2 separate regions of the Homo sapiens genome follow, and region 2 is linked to region 1. The links are contacts of gene promoters, found by promoter capture Hi-C in blood cells and fetal thymus (Javierre and others, 2016). All regions are on one chromosome and are shown on one strand. Each heading gives the region's core, a stretch centred on a gene start or on the middle of the fragment in contact. The rest is flanking DNA. Distances are from core to core; before and after follow the strand shown.

The links. Contacts are between HindIII fragments. The CHiCAGO score rates a contact against its expected background, and 5 or more counts as called.
Region 2: a contact is called between a fragment that was not itself captured here and the fragment with the promoter of NCR3LG1 in region 1, in 5 of 17 cell types (naive CD4 T cells, activated CD4 T cells, M1 macrophages and 2 more). The highest score is 7.9, in naive CD4 T cells.

What each region holds. Positions count from the first base shown.
Region 1 is chr11:17,348,917-17,354,998 of GRCh38, reverse strand. It overlaps NCR3LG1 (natural killer cell cytotoxicity receptor 3 ligand 1), which reads right to left and starts at 3,199. Exons shown (of 5, transcript NM_001202439.3): 1 at 2,960-3,199. The coding sequence starts at 3,029. It overlaps LOC105376576 (a long non-coding RNA gene), which reads left to right and starts at 3,133. Exons shown (of 3, transcript XR_931094.3): 1 at 3,133-3,220; 2 at 3,825-3,962; 3 at 4,088-4,186. It also overlaps a transcript of NUCB2 not described here. RefSeq lists enhancers at 1,784-1,833, 2,058-2,659, 2,660-3,261 and a silencer at 3,258-3,377. The HindIII fragment of the contact is 2,891 bases long and covers 1,132-4,022 here.
Region 2 is chr11:17,091,604-17,097,685 of GRCh38, reverse strand. It overlaps PIK3C2A (phosphatidylinositol-4-phosphate 3-kinase catalytic subunit type 2 alpha), which reads left to right. Exons shown (of 33, transcript NM_002645.4): 27 at 422-629; 28 at 3,301-3,425; 29 at 5,410-5,527; 30 at 5,618-5,690; 31 at 6,030-6,082. Among named protein-coding and RNA genes, the nearest start is that of RPS13, 17 kb to the right of the region's middle. The HindIII fragment of the contact is 174 bases long and covers 3,497-3,670 here.

The sequences.
Region 1 (6,082 bases), core at 1,950-4,449:
CCAAAGAAGTCAGACTCATTACTAACAATGCAGAGCTAGACATCTATATTTAGATAAATGTCAGAAACCGAATTCCCCTTGTTGCCATCAAACATGTCCTTTCATTAGTCACATCCAACATATCTAAATAAAGTTTTCAAAATTAATGTTAACAAAAATGTATCCAAAAACCTGCCAACTTACTCAAAGATTTGTGCAAGTCTATTTTTTAAAATAATACATTAGGGAAACGCGGTGACAAGCTTTCTGTTCTATGTATCAAAGCAAAAACAGACTTGACCTACAAAATGAAGATAGGGTCAACTGTAACCAAAAAAACAGTATGCTTCCCCCTGGTGGCCAACCAAGAAATGGAGAAACCAAGGATATGAAACAGCCAGGCCACCTAGTTGTATTGTCACTCTTAAAAACGAAAAGTGACTACCAAAAAAAAAAAAAAAAAAAAAAAAAAAAGAAGAAGAATTGGGGGGTCGGAGGGAGAAGGGAAAATATCAAAAACACTAACATGTGCTTAAAAGGAATACAAACCTGAGTGCCAGACTACATAAATTTAGAAGATTTAAATCAACAAATCAAAATTTAGAAGGCAAATTTGGGAAACCTCGTCTATTTTCAGAGCGCCCAAGCGCTCACCCAGGACCTCCATGTATTTTCATTTAAAGGTACAGAGTGTAGTACCTTAACAGCTTAACAGCATTCGCCTTTTTCAAGGACTAGATCCTTGGAATTTTCTGCAGTCTTGTTTCCAAGGAAAAGCATTTATGCATTTATCTTTTCAAATCAACTAGTGGTATAACCTACATAGAGAACCTCCAGTTCTAGAGCTCTCCAACTAGGGAGGACTGTTAACTACAGCTTTACAAATTGCTCTTTTCAACTTCATTTCTGAAATAAAACCTAACGTTCTTTAAAACATTTTCTATATCAACAACCTTTAAAGACATTCTCATACAAAGACGGGCTAGAATCTCTTGCATTAAAATCTGACGAATTCCTTTGTATGACTGGATTTTTTTTTTCTTGTACCACTTTAAATTTGCTTCCACGCAGAATAGCAGCCAGGCAAACAGATGCTCCATCCTAAGGTGTAGGAATTTCTTGTAGGCGGAAATGATTTGTTAGGCGAAAGCTTCCGAAACGGTTTTCCATTTCACAGTCTCTTCCGGTGCCAAAGTCCAGCACCAACGCCTGGTTCTGGGGTCCGACCCTCATGCAGCCGCCGCCGCGCTCCTCGTGGCTGGACGAGCCGGAACTAGCTTCCTCCAGGAGCTGCTGCTGCTGCTGCCGTCACTGGGCGCCGCCGCACAGCCAAACGGCGTTCCTCCCTCTCCGCTTCCCTGAGAACTCGCGGCCCTTCTCCACCACCACCAGCATCCGCGGGGACCGAGACCGGACGAAAGTGGCGGGGACCCAAGGCCCCTGAGGAGGGGGCGCCGGGCCCGGGAGGGGGCGCGGGACGGGCATGGGACCGGGTGGGCGCGGCGGCAGCCCACTGGCGCCACTTCGAGCTCGAGGAGACCCAGACTGATAGAGCGCGGAGGCGTTTCCAGACCGCAGCGACAGGCGTTTCCAGACCGCAGTGACAGGCGTTTCAAGTCCGCAGCGCGGAGACAAGCGCAATTTTGGCTTTCCACTTCACCGCCCACACTTCACTCGGAACTGTCTTATTTTCACATTGCTTATTGCAAATGTATAGAAATACTATTCACTCGTTTTTATTTCCACTTCCCTCTCCCATCGGGCAGCCATTCTAAGGTGTTTAACATGTAATTTTTGTTCTCTTTAAGGCTGTATCTTCTGTTTCTCAAACTGTGGAAATGGTATTGCATTGTATGTCCACTGTTTACTTGGCTCTACGCCTTCAACATCCGTTCACGCTGCTCGGCAAGCAGCAAGGGCGTGGTGTGAAGCTGCCGCCAAGGTCTCCACGGTGAGGTCCACACGCGGCTCTCCTCCACCTGCAGTGACTCGGGGCGCCCAGAGCGCGCCTCCGGGATTCCTACATTCCACCTCCACCACCCGGCACCCAGGAGCGTATTTTGGCCAGCCTAGTAAGGGTCAAGCAGCATCTTGTTGTTTAATTGCCATTCTTCTAGTTAGAAATGAGTTTAAATATCTCTACATACGCGTTTCAGCCTTTTAGTCTCCTGTTTAAGTTAACGCAGAACACGCCCATACGAGTTCCCAAAAAAGCAAGAGAACGTTTGAAGGTCACCACAAGATCAAAACACTCCCCTCCCTCTCTCAGTAAAGACCTAACTTAGCAAAGCCAGGAGGACCCACTGATATGCGGATGAATGATTTTTCCAATTTACCGATTCCCTGATTTTCTTCTCTCCTCCGGCCCCTCGGATGATGCGAGAGAGGCGCCAAATACCGAGGCACCAAACGCGCGACATCCAAGGAAGCACCGTTTCCGCTCTCACAGGTGTCGACCCTGCACAGGGCAGGCCTTCAATGTAAACCTGTTGCATCGGGGACTCCGCTTCTCACAAAGGAGGGACGCTTGAAAATAGAGCCCCCAGGCCGGGCGCGGGGGCTCACGCCTGTAATCCCCGCACTTTGGGAGGCCGAGGCGGCTGGATCACTAGGTCAAGGAGACCATCTTGGCTAACACTGTGAAACCCCGTCTCTACTAAAAGTACAAAAAATTAGCCGGGCATGGTGGCGGGCGCCTGTGGTCCCAGCTACTCGGGAGTCTGAGGCAGGAGAATGGCGTGAACCTGGGAGGCGGAGCTTGCAGTGAGCCGAGATCGCGCCACTTCACTCCAGCCTGGGAGACAGAGCGAGACTCCGTCTCAAAAAAAAAAAAAAAAAAAAAGGAGAAGAAATAGAAAAGAAAATAGAGCTCTCAGCCCCCAGGAAGTTGAGGTCCCCTGGCGGGATGCTAGGGAGCCGACCCGCGAGGACCCTCTGGCGCCAGGAGCCCCCGCCCCAGCCCACCCCAGCCGCCCCCTACCTTCGGTCGTCAGCGCCCACAGCAGAATCAGGAGCGCCGCGCACGTGGAGGCGGCAGCCCTCCACGTCATCGCCGCGGCTGCTGTTGTGTAATTTTTTTCGCCGAGTGGGAGCAGGCGGCCCGGTAGAAACCAAGGGCAGGGGGAGACCTCTGTTGCGTAAAGAGTTGACGGAGACACAGCCGGGATTTCCAGCCGGCGCTTTTGCACATCCCACTTCTTCAGATCCCTTCGGCAACTGCGAAGTCGCCTGGATTTCCCAGGTTCGCACTGCAGGAAGCCAGGCGCGTGACCAGCCCCACCCGCGCCGCACTTTAGCCCGGGGGCGGGCACCGGCCGGGGAATCCTCCCTCGCCTCCGCCCGCGGCACGAGGTTGCGCGGTTACAGCCCCGGTGCCTCTCGCGAGCGGCTCTGCGGTCCAGGACTCGGGGCATCCTCTGGGTTCGCTTAGTAAATTGAGACCGGGATCCAAGTGGCCCGGGGCGCTGCTCTAAGGAAGATGCTGACCGCAGTCGGTGATTGCGAGAGCAGGTGCACGCGTCCAGAGCGACATCTTACCGTTGGCGCGATAAACTTACATTACTTTAAAAACCAAAAACAACAAAAATTTAGCATTAAGTCGAAAGGCAAATTAAATCCCCAGGACAATTCAGTTAAACGCCTGAAGGTGGCCCTTAATTTCCCATTTCTACTAATCAAGAAGTGGCTTGCGACCTCCTGAAGCAAACCCAAATATTCTCATTCGGTGATTAAGTTTTACCACCTCTACACCAGTTTTTAAATCAATTTAACCGCAAAGTTCAGAACCCAAGTGGCACAGTAAATGTGTGTGCATTTATAACGCAGAACCTGCATTCTTTCCCCAGCAACCTGCATTCCATTTGTCTCATTGACCCTACTGCATTTTTCCTTCGCATCATTAAAAAGGATGTAATGTACAGAAAAGCACAGACAGACCTAAACTCCAATGCCAACCATGCCATCTGCTGATTATAAGACAGTGGGTAAGTGACCTCATATCCCCAGCCTGTTCACATGTCTCTAAAACTGAGAGAGTAAAAGCTTCCTTTCCAGGGTTAGAGACACTGTCACTGACTAAGCAAATAGTCACATTCTCACTTATCTGCAGAACAGAGTGCATACAGAAAGAGCTCAGAAGTGAAAGATGCGCAGAGTGCCCACAGTGGCAGCAACTAGCTGAGGGGCCTTCAGATCGCAGCCTTCCGGACCACCGTTATAACAGGTAGAGATATGCAAGGTTAAGTCCAGCTATTGAATTTTTAAAACCTAAATTACACCTCTTCTCAACCTCTGCCTCCTCCAAGGAGCCTTACCTGAGGAGACATCCTTGTCTGGTATTAGTGACATCATTAAATAACATTCCCAATGGAGGTATATGACGACTTCTTATACATGCCCAGAATAGTGATTCACAAAGTTGTGACACATACACATCACCCTGTAGAAATTATCAAATTACTCTTTTGGTAATTTTTACTGTTTTGGTAATTTTTTTGTACCCTTTTTACTCTAAAGGGTAAAACCGGCAGGTTTCTCTATTTATATTTCATTAGAATGAAAAGTCATTACCTGTGTTTTCGTTTTTACCAATATCATGTCTATTTGAACATCTTTTTTTTTTTTTTTTTTTTTTTTTTTTTTTTGGTGAGACAGAGTCTCGTTCTGTTGCCCAGGCTGGAGTGCAGTGGCGTGATCTCAGCTCACTGCAACCTCTGCCTCCCAGGTTCAAGAGATTATTGTGCCTCAGCTTCATCCTCCCAAGTAGCTGGGATTGCAGGTGCCTGCCACCACACCCAGCTAATTTTTGTATTTTTAGTAGAGACAGAGTTTCACCATGTTGGCCAGGCTGGTCTTGAACTCCTGACCTCAAGTGATCCGCCCACCTCGGCCTCCCAAAGTGCTGGGATCACAGGCGTGAGCCACCACACCCGGCCTGAACATGTCTTTTAATACTTTTGCCAACTTTCCATTCAACCCTAAAGCACACAGCAGATACCTCACGATGCTTCTCAAACAAAATAAGCATATATTCTCAGGAATTATTTATGGAAAACTCTGACTTTCTGTGTTCTTTATTGGTGCACAGCATTGAGACACGGTATTCAAATGCTGGTTGACACTGAGGTCATTTTTATGACACATTGCATCCAACTTGCTGTTGGAATATCACATACAATTTTGGAACCATATTGTAACACATATTGAAAATATCCAACAAGTAATCAGAATGGTAAATAAGGGACATTCACTCAAAGACATGTATCCAGGGACAGTATGGCAGAGACTGCTATTTGTCAACCAATATCTGTTTTCCCCTTTTTCCTTGAAAAAGGCCTCCAATATTTTCCTGGGCACAGGGATCAATAAAAGACTGCATTTCCTAATCATTCTGGAACTAAATGTGGCCATATGACCAAGTTCTGGCCAAAGTAATATAAATGGAAATGTTCTGTGTGACTTCTGGGAAATGTCCTTAAAGAGAAGGAAATGATCTTCTTTTCCCCTTCCTTCTTTCTGACAGCAGGATAGCAGATGTAATGCCTAGAGCTTGAGGAGACATCTTGCACCACAGTGTGGAAACCATGCACTAGGACAAAGGGACAGCAAAAGAGAAGGGTTCTGGGTCCCTGATGACTCGTGAAACCTCTACCAGCTTTAGAAGGACACCTCTGGACCTGTGGAACATAAGAAATAAAGTCAGTAAGCTACTCTTATTTAAAATGTTCTCATTTTCAGCAGAACCTAATCCTAATCACTACAAATGAGTAAAGGAGCTGAGCCCATTTTGTTTGGAGTAGCCTGGGGGTTTAAGAAATGGTACCAGTCTTGTAAGTCTCTGAAAAGCTAACACCTGTGTATGTGAGTACACATGTTAGGTGATGTTCTTGAAGGCAAAAGCAAGTTGGAGAGAGATTTTGGCTCAGTATAAGAAAAGCTTTCTGCTGGGCGCGGTGGCTCACACCTGTAATCCCAGCACTTTGGGAGGCCGAGGCGGGTGGATCACCTGAGGTCAGGAGTTCGAGACCAGCCTGGCCAACATGGTGAAACCCTGTCTCTACTAAAAATACAAAACTTAGCCAGGTGTGGTGGCAGACGCCTGTAA
Region 2 (6,082 bases), core at 2,334-4,833, 260 kb after region 1:
CCCCTTGGCCTCCCAAAGTGCTGGGATTACAGGCGTGAGCCACCGTGCCCAGCCCTTGGATTACTTTCTTTCCCACCTATTTGTCATCTTTCTCCTTTATTAAAAGGAAATAAAGTAATGAAGTCATCTTTTTAGCATTATACCAATCATCATCTATCTATAATAGCTCTTTAATTAGTCTTGGGGACCCTACAGGGTTCAAGAAAACCAAGCATGAATTCTTTCTTGGGCTAAATTATTTTGTTGGGGTGAGATGTGTTTTAACAAACCTTTGGCCTGTAGAACAAAGGGAATCCTTGGCAAAGTGACAATCTGCTTAATATTTTTAAAGGAATGAAAGTGGTTTTTGTCATTTATTACATTGAAAGAATTTACCATGTGTTCTCATTTACTGTTAACGAATTTTCTGATTATTTTGTAGGCTTATTGAATCAAGTTTGGGAAGCATTGCCACAAAGTTTAACTTCTTCATTCACAACCTTGCTCAGCTTCGTTTTTCTGGTCTTCCTTCTAATGATGAGCCCATCCTTTCATTTTCACCTAAAACATACTCCTTTAGACAAGATGGTCGAATCAAGGAAGTCTCTGTTTTTACATATCATAAGAAATACAACCCAGATAAACATTATGTAAGTTTGATTTCAATATTCATAAACAATCATGCATGTATTATTGTTGTCCTTTCTACTTCCTTTGCTGATTCTGCTAAAGTTGCAAGCATTTGTTCTATTCATGCTTGTTTCTTTCATGAATGGTCCATAAATAAGTAAATGTACTTGAAGCATCCCTAACTTTTTTGGTATTTAATTCTTGCTATATTTGCTTCAAACAATAAGGACCGAGTGGTAAAGTGTGCTTGTTGTAACAAATTTAATCAATAGAGAAGTATGTAAAGTAAAAAGTCAAAGTTCCTATTCCAGTCTCTGATACAAAACACGCACACATTGTCTTTGAACAGATACAGGAACTTCAGCATGCTTTTTCCTCTTCGAGACTGTAGTGTTATCTTTTTTGTTGCTACTTTTCACCCTTGTGCTACCTTTTTTGTTAGATAATACTTTCCAGAACTGCCAGTTTTTAAATTTTTGGCAAATAGATAGTCTTTAAAAAGCTATTTTACTACTGTTTTTCATCTATTCTGTTAATAAATTTTAGTATCTTTTTGTGTGTTTATTAAAGTTATCCTAACACCATTTTATTGCATAGTCCATTCTCTCCCCAATATATACTACTACCTTTAAGTTTATATATATATCCCCAAATTTGTTTCTGGCCTGCTATAGATAGATCCTACTTGGCACCAGTATTATATGCTTTAAAGTATTGTAACTTTATAAAAGTTTAAATAGGCCGGGCGCAGTGGCTCATGCCTATAATCCCAGCACTTTGGGAGCCCGAGGCAGGTGATCACCTGAGGTCAGGAGTTCAAGACCAGCCTGGCCAACATGGTGAAACCCCGTCTCTAATAAAAATATGAAAATTAGCTGGATGTGGTGGCATGTGTCTGTAGTCCCAGCTACTCAGGAGGCTGAGGCAGGAGAATCGCTTGAACCCGAGAGGCAGAGGTTGCAGTAAGCCAATATTGTGCCATTGCGCTCCAGGCTGGGCAACAGAGCAAGACGCTGTATCAAAAAAAAAAAAAAGTTTAACTAGCCAGCAAAACAAGTTTTCCTTCACTACCCCCCATAAACCTTTTGCCTTTTTTTAACTGACTTTTTATTTATTTTTATTTTATTTTATGTTATGTTATTTTATTTTATTTTATAAATATAAAAGAGTCTCACTCTGTTGCCCAGGCTGGAGTGCAGTGGCGCAATCTCGTCTCCTGAAACCTGTGCCTCCCAGGTTCAAGCAATTCTCATGCCTCAGCTCCTGAATGGCTAGCTGGGACTACAGGCATGCGCCAGCACACCCGGCTAATTTTTGTATTTTTAGTAGAGATGGGGTTTCGCCATGTTGCCCAGGCACATGGCCAGGCGAATTCCTGGCCCCAAGTAATCCACTCATTTCGGCCTCTCGAAGTTCTGGGATTATGTGAGCCACCATGCCTGGACTATTTTATTTATTATTTATTTTTTTATTTTTTTATTTTTTTGAGACGGAGTCTTGCTCTGTTGCCCAGGCTGGAGTGCAGAGGTGTGATCTCAGCTCACTGCAAGCTCTGCCTCCCGGGTTCACGCCATTCTCCTGCCTCAGCCTCCCAAGTAGCTGGGACTACAGGTACCCACCACCACGCCCGGCTCATTTTTTGTATTTTTTTTTTTTTTTTTTTTTAGTAGAGACAGGATTTCACCATGTTAGCCAGGATGGTCTCAATATCCTGACCTTGTGATCCACCTGCCTCAGCCTTCCAAAGTGCTGGGATTACAGGCGTGAACCACTGCGCCCGGCTGCCTGGACTATTTTTATTTCTACTTTTTGAGAAACGGTCTCGCTCTATTACCCTGGCTGGAGTGCAGTGATGCAGTGTTGGCTCATTTGGCTCACTTGGCTCACTGTAGCCTTGACACCTGGGCTGAGTTGATCCTCCCACCTTAGCTTCCCAAGTAGCTGGGGCTACAGGCATGTGCCACCACAGTTGGCTAATCTTTATATTTTTTATAGAAACAGAGCCTTACTATGTTGCACAGGCTGGTCTCTAACTCCAGGGCTGAAATGATCCTCTCACCTTGGCCCCTCAAAGTGCTAGGATTATAGGCATGAGCAACCGTGCCCAGCTTACACTTTTAAGTTCTAGTTTATCTATCTTAGGATGGTTATGATCACTCTTAAAATGTAGTTAGATGTGTTATAAATACAATGACTTATATTTGCTTTTTCCTATTGGTGACATATATATTACCAAGATAAAAGTACTTGAACTGCATATAACAATTAAGCTATAAATTTCTTTTCTGTCAGGAAAGGAGGTTTTTTTGCTTCTTGGTCTTTTAGCTAAGATCAATATAGGAAAGAAGGTTTTTTTGAGATGGAGTCTCGCTCTGTTGCCCAGGCTGGAGTACAGTGCCATCTCGGTTCACTGCAACCTCTGTCTCCCAGGTTCAAGTGATTTGCCTGCCTCAGCCTCCCAAGTAGCTGGGATTACAGGCACGCACCACTATGCCCAGCTAATTTTTGTTTGTTTAGTAGAGACGTGCTTTTACTATGTTGCCCAGGCTGGTCTCAAACTCCTGACCTCAGCTGATCCACCCACCTCGGCCTCCCAAAGTGCTGGGATTACAGGCATGAGCCACTGCACCCGGCCTGGAAAGAAGGTTTTAAATATAAATTTTATGTGTTTGTGGTGTGATTTCTTTTCAGATTTATGTAGTCCGAATTTTGAGGGAAGGACAGATTGAACCATCATTTGTCTTCCGAACATTTGACGAATTTCAGGAACTTCACAATAAGCTCAGTATTATTTTTCCACTTTGGAAGTTACCAGGGTATGTATTCATCCTTGTACATTAATCCTTTTTGTAGGAAACAACTTGTTATCAAATGTAGGTAGAAAGCTTTGTGTTAACACTTAGTAAGATATTATCGGCCATGTGTGGCTTATTTTCCTTTGTGTCATAAAGACCTAATACAAAAGCAGACATAAACAAGGAACTGGAAGTTTTTGTTGAATGAATAAATGATCGGGATGTTAAAATATGAGATTTTCAGACTTCTAACTCTTATTGAAGCTTTAACTTTGCTGTCTCTACCATAGTAAGCAACACAAGATAATAATTTGGCATCTTGGTTTTGAAAAAAGTCATATCCTGCCAGGTGTGGTGGCTCACAAGCTTATAATCCCAGCACTTTGGGAGGCCGAGGCAGGGAGATACCTTGAGTCCAGGAGTTGGAGACTAGCCTGGGCACCATGGCGAAACCCCATCTCTATAAAAAATACAAAAATTAGCTGGGCTGGTGGCACATGTCTGAAGTCCCAGCTACTCAGGAGGCTGAAGTGAGAGGATTGATTGATACCAGGATGTGGAGGTTGCAGTGAGCGAAGATCACATCACTGCATTACAGCCTGGGTGACAGAATGAGACCCTGTCCCCCCCCCCCAAAAAAAAAGTCATATGCTAAATCAGTGTAGAAATAATCTATCATGGGCCATACTGAGCTCCTCTGCTAAAAAAACTGAAGCATGGCCGGGCGCGGTGGCTCACACCTATAATCCCAGCATTTTGGGAGGCCAAGGCGGGCGGATCACGAGGTCAGGAGATGGAGACCATCCTGGCTAACACGGTGAACCGTCTCTTCTAAAAAATACAAAAAATTAGCTGGGCATGGTGGCAGGCGCCTGTAGTCCCAGCTACTTGGGAGGCTGAGGCAGGAGAATGGCGTGAACCCAGAAGGTGGAGCTTGCAGTGAGCTGAGATGGCACCACTGCACTCCAGCCTGGGCAACAGAGCGAGACTCCGTCTCAAAAAAATAAATAACAAGCAAACATCATCGAGACTGTCAATCAAAATCTTAGTTTTGTATCTGATACCCTTTGGGAGTCTTCAGTTTTAATGTAGCTCAATGACCAGTAGATTTCCTGTGTCGAGTTTTTTCATATTTTCTTCAGACTAGATTTCAAAAGTGAGGATGAGGTGAAGTGGGTATTAGAGTTTGTTTCCGTGTACAGTTTCATTTTTCCACTGCCACCAAAATAAGTGGAATTAAGATTATCCTTTCAGCACCTTACTTAGGCCTTATGTTATTATTTGTGGATTTTACTGGTATATGTAATATTTATGGCTGATTGAGTAGTGATTTTATTTTTTAGGGATCAGATCTGGATAAAATATTTATGAGTGATTAAACTTGAGAAGAAATATTAGAAAATAAGTATTAAGTAGGTACAAAAGTAATTGCGTTTTTTGCCATTACTTTTAATGTCAAAAACCACAGTTACTTTTGCACCAAGCTAATAATAAATATAGGAAATCAACACATACACCTTTTCAACCAAGGCTCATAAAAGGATAATGGGTGACTGAACGATGTCATCTCCAATACTTTGAAGAGAAATCACAAAAAATTACTTATTTTATTTTGAGACGGAGACTTGCTCTGTCACCCAGGCTGGAGTGTAAGTGATCTCGGCTCACTGCAACTTCCGCTTCCCAGGTTCAAGTGATTTTTCTGCCTCAGCCTTCCGAGTAGCTGGGATTATAGGTATCTGATTATAGGCATCAGCACGCTAATTTTTGTATTTTTAGTAGAGACAGGGTTTTATCATGTTGGCCAACCTGGTTTCAAACTCCTGACCTCAAGTGATCCACCCGCCTTGGCCTCCCAAAGGCCATGAGCCACCGTGCCCGGCCACAAAATATTACTTTATAATGGATTAAGACTACTTTGTCTTTAAGTATATATGAAAAAGTGTATTTCTAAGGAAATATTGTACTTATTTAAATCCCACTTGTTTTTGTTTTTCTTTTGTAGCTTTCCTAATAGGATGGTTCTAGGAAGAACACACATAAAAGATGTAGCAGCCAAAAGGAAAATTGAGTTAAACAGTTACTTACAGAGTTTGATGAATGCTTCAACGGATGTAGCAGAGGTAACCTTACTAAATGAGAAGTAATAACATCTTATACCTTTTGTGTTACATAATATTTAAACTAATGAATTGCTTTCTCTTTATTCTTAGTGTGATCTTGTTTGTACTTTCTTCCACCCTTTACTTCGTGATGAGAAAGCTGAAGGGATAGCTAGGTCTGCAGGTGAGATTATTTTTTTTCTCTTTATTGGTAACTCATGATCTGCAAGTCTGTAACTTCTCGATGAATGTGGTAGAATGACAGCAGGCTTACTAGCTGTAGTCTGAGAATGGGAGGAGAGTATTCTTTCTAAGCCAGTCTATTTCTGAATAAATATAACTTTCCTAATAGATGTGATTACTAAAGAAGTATAAATCAATGACCTATCAGGTTGTTTACTCCTTTTTCCCCTCCCTTCTGTCCGCACCACATGTGACAGTCTTGAAAATAAAGCAAAATCCTTTTATTGCAGCTTGAACCACTACAACCAGTAAATAAAGATGAAAATATTTGTATTTTCAGATGCAGGTTCCTTCAGTCCTACTCCAGGCCAAATAGGAGGAGCTGTGAAATTA